Regions from separate parts of the Homo sapiens genome. Here region 2 is linked to region 1. The links are contacts of gene promoters, found by promoter capture Hi-C in blood cells and fetal thymus (Javierre and others, 2016). All regions are on one chromosome and are shown on one strand. Each heading gives the region's core, a stretch centred on a gene start or on the middle of the fragment in contact. The rest is flanking DNA. Distances are from core to core; before and after follow the strand shown.

Region 1 (2,838 bases), core at 312-2,811:
GGCGAAGCAGTGCACCCTCGGTGGCACCCCACTGCCTTTCCTGGTGCTGTGGCCTCTGCTGCAGATCACAGATTCATGGCCTTCTGTCTGTCCCTCTTCTCCAATCCCAGCTGTTCCTTCTGTAAATCTGTCCCCCAGGGCAGGTCCCTCCCCCAAAGGCCCCATTCATACTGGTGTTGGTCAGTCACCCAGTGTTTGCTCACCCAGGCCACCCTTTATCCAGTCAAGCCACCCTCCACTGCTCCTGCAGGACTCTAGAGCCAGGTGGCCTGGGCTGAAATCTTGCTGTGTCACTTACAACCCGGGTGATCCTGGGCCGATGACTCATCTCCTCTACCTCTGTTACCTCGTCAGTAAGATAGAGATAACAGGACCTAACTTCGAGGGTTGTTGGAAAGACCAAGTGAGTAAAGGCATGTTGTGCCCTTAGAGCCTGGCACGTGTTCATCACTGCTATTATTTCTGGCTACTCGGTGCCAGGACAGGGGCCTCAGCTGAGGGCCCCCCAGAGCCTGGCAGGCCCAGTGAAGGAGTGAGATGGGGAGGCCACGACTCCTCCCCAGTCAGCAGCTGTCCTGTGGCCATGGGGGCCTGGTGAGGCCAGATCTTCAGGTTGTTCTAGAAAAGTGAGTATTCTAGAATTATGTTTCAAGCCTCTTGGTTTGCAAATACTAGTAACTATTTTTAAAATGTTTTGGTATTTGGCCTGGCACAGTGTTTGACCCCTGTAATCCCAGCACTTTGGGAGGCCAAGGTGGGAGGATCACTTAAACCCAGGAGTTGGAGACCAGCCTGGGCAACATAGCAAGATTCTCTCTCTACCAAAAAAATGAAAAAATTAGCTGGGTGTGGTGGTGCACGCCTGTAGTCCCAGCTACTCGGGAGGCTGTGGTGGGAGGATCACTTGAGCCCAGGAGGATGAGCCTGCAGCAAGCTGTGATGCCACCACTGCACTCCAGCCTGGGTGACAGAGTGAGATCCTGTCTCAGAAATAAAAAGTAAATAAAGTTTTGGATGCTTTGAGCATCTGGCAGAAATCTTCGCTATGCCCCGCTGATGTCCTGGGCCCGATGTGGGCGCCTGGCCATGGCTCGGTCACTCCTGACGGTTTTTCAGGGCCTCAGACACCTCTTCTTCTTCTTCTTCTTCTTTTTTTGAGACTGATTTTCGCTCTTGTTGCCCAGGCTGGAGTGCAATGGTGTAATCTCGGCTCACCACAACCTCCGCCTCCCGGATTCAAGTGATTCTCCTGCCTCAGCCTCCCGAGTAGCTGGGACCACAGGCATGCACCACCATACCCGGCTAACTTTGTATTTTTAGTAGAGATGGGGTTTCTCCATGTTGGTCAGGCTGGTCTCGAACTCTCGACTTCAGGCAGACACCTGTTCTTTGCCATGCCTCTGTCTGAAGAGTATATGGAAAGGGGTTGCACAAGCAATGGTTGCTGTTCCTGTTGCTGCCACTGCGGTGAGGGCTGTGGCTGGACGTCCCTCCTGGCACTTTGCCTCTGTCCCCTCCATCCGCCGCCAGCATTTTTCCTCCCCTCCCCTTCCTCCAGCTCGTCCCAAGCCTGCCTGTCCCCAGCGTGGAGGCGGGACAGTGGAAGACTGGGTGAGTGAAGCAGGATGGTGCCTTGGGCTCCAGCGTCTCCCCAACCCCTCCATGCCATGGGTCCCCACGCAGGTGAGGACCCTGGTGGAGGACGGTGTGGGCAGAGCGTGGGACATGTCACCTTCCCCACCTGCTCAGAGTTCAAGGGTCCTGGGCTGGGCCCCGTTCTCTCTTCTGCCCTGGGGAGATCATTCACGCTTCCTTTAATCCCCGCTGCAGCTGAGGCTGGAGTTTGGAGTTTGACCCGCTTGGAGGCTCTCTCAGCAGCGGGCATATAGGAGGAAGGGTCACTGCTGTCTCCGGAAGCTCTTGGCTGCAAAGAGAGAGGATCCCGGGTATCTCCCTCCTTACAACCACCGCCACCTCCTAGTGCCTTAGAAGCCACTGACAGCCCCCAGGGCAGGTGAGCCCTGCATCTGGAATAAGGTAAGACACCCCCTGCCCCCAAACAGGTAGCCACTCTCCAAACTGGGAAGTTGGTCTGGGGACAGGTGCTGGCAGAAGGACTCCAGCTGTCACCTGTGGGGCAGGGGAAGCTCAGCCCTCTCTGCAGAGAAAGCTTGTCATACACCAGGACAATGGAGTGTGTTTGTGGGGTGGGCATGGTGGTATGAAGCCAGCAGCCGGCAGCCAGCAGCACCGTACGTGGGTCCCAGCTCTTCCACTTAACCAAGGTCAGGGACATTGAGCCAAACATTTTGCCTCACCGAGTCTCAGGTTCCTTATCTGTCAAATGGGAATATGAACCTCAGGCTGACCCACCCCACAGGTGTGTTACCCAGAGATAACGAAGGTAAATGTATCCACATAAGCATTAAAAAGCTATAGGAATGTATTTACTACAACTGCAGCTGCTGTTAACTACAAGGCAAATACAAGTCTTCACTGGTACGTGTCAGACACGTGCAGAGAACTTTACGCCTGGATCTCATCTAACTGACACAGAAACCCTGTAAGGTAGGTACAGCACCCCCTAATTCATGGACAGAGTCTAAGGGTCATTAAATAACTTGCTCAAGGTAATACAGATAGTGAGTGGCCAAGCCAAGACTCAATTCCTGTGGCCATGAGCTCAGCCACAATATCAGTGATTTTCTTTTTCTTTCCTTTCTTTCTTTTTCTCTTTCTTTCTTTTTCTTTCTTTTCCTTTCTTTTCTTTGTTCTTTCTTTCTTTCCTTCTTTCTTTTATTTCTTTCCTTATTCCTTTCTTTCCCTTTCTTTCTCCTT
Region 2 (3,017 bases), core at 205-2,704, 240 kb before region 1:
GTCTCAAACTTTTGAGTTCAAGTGATCCTCCCACCTCAGCCTCCCAAAGTGCTGGGATTACAGGCATGAGCCACTGCACCTGGCCTTTTATTATTATTTTTTTTTCTTTTGATACAGGATCTCACTCTTGTCACCCAGACTGGAATGCAGTGGCGCCAACACAGTTCACTTTCAGTCTCGAACTCCTGGGCTCAAGCAATCCTCCCACCTTAGTCTCCCGAGTAGCTGGGACTATAGGCACATGCTGCCACATCCAGGTAATTTTTAGGTTTTTTGTAGAGACAGGGGTTTTACCATGTTGCGTAGGCTGGCCTCAAACTTCTGAGTTCTAGTGATCCTCCTACCTCAGCCTCCCAAAGTGCTGAGATTACAGGCGGGAGTCACTGCGCCTGGCCAAAGTGTTTTTTGTTTTGTTTTGTTTTGTTTTTGGTTTGAGATGGAGTTTCACTCTTGTTAACCAAGCTGGAGTACAATGGCATGATCTCAGCTCACTGCAACCGCCGCCTCCCGGGTTCAAGAGATTCTCCTGCCTCTGCCTCTTGAATAGCTGGGGTTACAAGTGCGTGCCACCATGCCCGGCTAATTTTTTGTATTTTTAGTAGAAATGGGGTTTCACCATGTTAGCCAGGCTGATCTCGAACTCCTAACCTCAGGTGATCCACCTGCCTTGGCCTCCCAAAGTGCTGGGATTATAGGCATGAGCCACCGCACCTGGCCCAAAGTTTGTTTTTAAAGTTTGTTTGGCTGGACTAGAGTTGGGTTTAGTCTAGGACTATTTTGGTCCCACCACGGAGGTAAAACACTTCTGAGTATCCTACCTGATAGATGCTGTGTGAATTATGAAGCTTTGCATTCTAGGGTAATGGGCAAAAATTACTCCTGGCCATATGTGGCCCTCTAATCCTTTTGGTCAGGTCTTTTTCTAACATGCGTGTCATGATCTGTACTCCACTGAAGACTTGAGGGACATCTCTGCAGATCTTGATCTCTGTGCGGCTCTCTCCTCTCCAGTACCTGCCCTACAAACTCTGTCTTCCTTGGCCTCCCTGGACTCCCTGCTCTGTCTCCTCATCTCAGGGGGAACACCAGCCTCAGTTTGAAGTCCACCTCTCTGCACTGCAATTTGGAAACTTCCTCTAGGCAGTAATATGGGGCAATCATAGAGCTCACCTGGTTTGTTTCCCTTCTCTCATATATCCCTGCCCTTTGTTATCTGATGTCCAATGTCTTAAATACTGTTGTTGTTGTTGTTGTTGTTGTCGTTGTTGTTGTTGTTGTTGTTGTTTTGGGACAAAGTCTCTCTCTGTCGCCCAGGCTGGAGTGCAGTGGCGCAATCTCAGCTCACTGCAGCCTCCGTCTCCCGGGTTTAAGCAATTCTCCTGCCTCAGCCTCCCAAGTAGCTGGGACTGCAGGCAAAGTCACCATACATGGCTAATTTTTTGTATTTTTAATAGAGACGAGGTTTCACCAGGCTGGTCTCGAACTCCTGACCTCAAGTGATCTGCCCGCCTCAGCCTCCCAAAGTGCTGGGATTAGAGGTGTGAGCCACCATGCCCGGCCAAAACTGTTGTTTTATATATTTTATCTTGTTTGTTGTTGTTTCAGGGAAAAGAGTATACCCAGTTTCTGTTATGTCATCTTAATTGGAAGCAAAAGGCACTGCTTCTTTCTAAAAAGTTAAGCATAAAGTTTTATTAATAATCTCCATCCAATTATTTTATTATATGAAATTTATAGGAGTCTAATCCTGCACTTTCTTCTGTCTCCTAGTGCTTTGTAATTTATAACATGTTTTATAATTTTGGATTATAAACTCATCTGCAATGGGAACATAATCTGTGGGAACTCTGTGAGGTCTGGGCTTAGTGAACTTACCTCTAGATCACTTTTATATTTGCCTCTCTGAGGCTCCTCTCTTTCTATGTTATTTCTTATTTTTGGTATTCCAGGGCCATAAAAGTAATGTATGTTCAGACATCAAAACCACTTGAGAACAGGCCTTGGTTATTAATTATCATGGGAGTATTTTTTTTGCCTTGACCCAGAATTCAGGTCAAGTCACACAAGCTTCCGTGTTTCTCTGGGCTTAAAGGTGATCTTTTTTTGTTTGTTTGTTTCACCATGTATTAGTTAGGGTTCTCCAAAGAAGTAGAATCAGCATGAGAGAAAGAGATTGATTTATCCTGAGGAATTGGCTCATGCAATTATAGAGGCTCTGAAGTCTCACAAGTCTGCTCTCTGCAAGCTGGAGATCCAGGGAAACTTGGGGTGTAATTTGGTCCAAGTCTGAAAGCTTAAGAACCAGGGTAGCCAATGGTGTAAATCCCAGTCCAGAGGCTGGACAAGATGAGATGAGGTGTTCCAGCTCAAGAAGGCAGGCAGGAAGCAAAAGGGGAAATTTCCTCCTTCTTCCACCTCCTTCCTCCACCACAGATAACCCTTTTGTTCCATTGAGATTGAATGATTTCCACCCACATTGAAGTGGGCAATGTTCTCTACTGAGTCCATCCACTGAAATGTTAATCTCATCCAGAAACATTCTCACAGACACATCTAGAAATAATGTTTAATCTGGGCACCCCGTGGCTAGTCAATGTGACACATAAAATTTACCACCATGCACATTTTCACTGAGGATACAGCACTTTTAAGAGTCCCAAGCTGATGTGGAAGTTTCCACTCCCAGGCACAAGACTTTGTCTCCTGTACCTGCTTGGAGTTGCAACCCAGCCTCCCAAGGCTGCCATGTCCCTGCCAAGCACTAAATCCCCAGGGTGGATACAGCGTTAACTCGTATGCCTAGCTCTCTAGTTTTCTGGGGTTTTTTCTTCCCTTTTTAAAAATTATTATTATTAATTTTTTTAGATGGTCTCGCTGTGTCTCCCAGGTTGGAGTGCAGCGGCATGATCTCTGCTCACTGCAACCTCTGCCTTCCCCCGTTTCAAGCAATTCTCTTGCCTCAGCCTCCTGAGTAGCTGATATTACAGGCACATGCCATCACACCTGGCATTTTTGTA

The links. Contacts are between HindIII fragments. The CHiCAGO score rates a contact against its expected background, and 5 or more counts as called.
Region 2: a fragment that was not itself captured here is called in contact with the fragment with the promoter of SLC5A11 in region 1 in 1 of 17 cell types (endothelial precursors); the score reaches 5.2 in endothelial precursors.

What each region holds. Positions count from the first base shown.
Region 1 is chr16:24,844,402-24,847,239 of GRCh38, forward strand. It overlaps SLC5A11 (solute carrier family 5 member 11), which reads left to right and starts at 1,562. Exons shown (of 17, transcript NM_001352248.3): 1 at 1,562-1,611; 2 at 1,831-2,037. The HindIII fragment of the contact is 4,984 bases long and covers 1-2,168 here.
Region 2 is chr16:24,602,344-24,605,360 of GRCh38, forward strand. No RefSeq gene overlaps it. Among named protein-coding and RNA genes, the nearest start is that of RBBP6, 64 kb to the left of the region's middle. The HindIII fragment of the contact is 1,222 bases long and covers 844-2,065 here.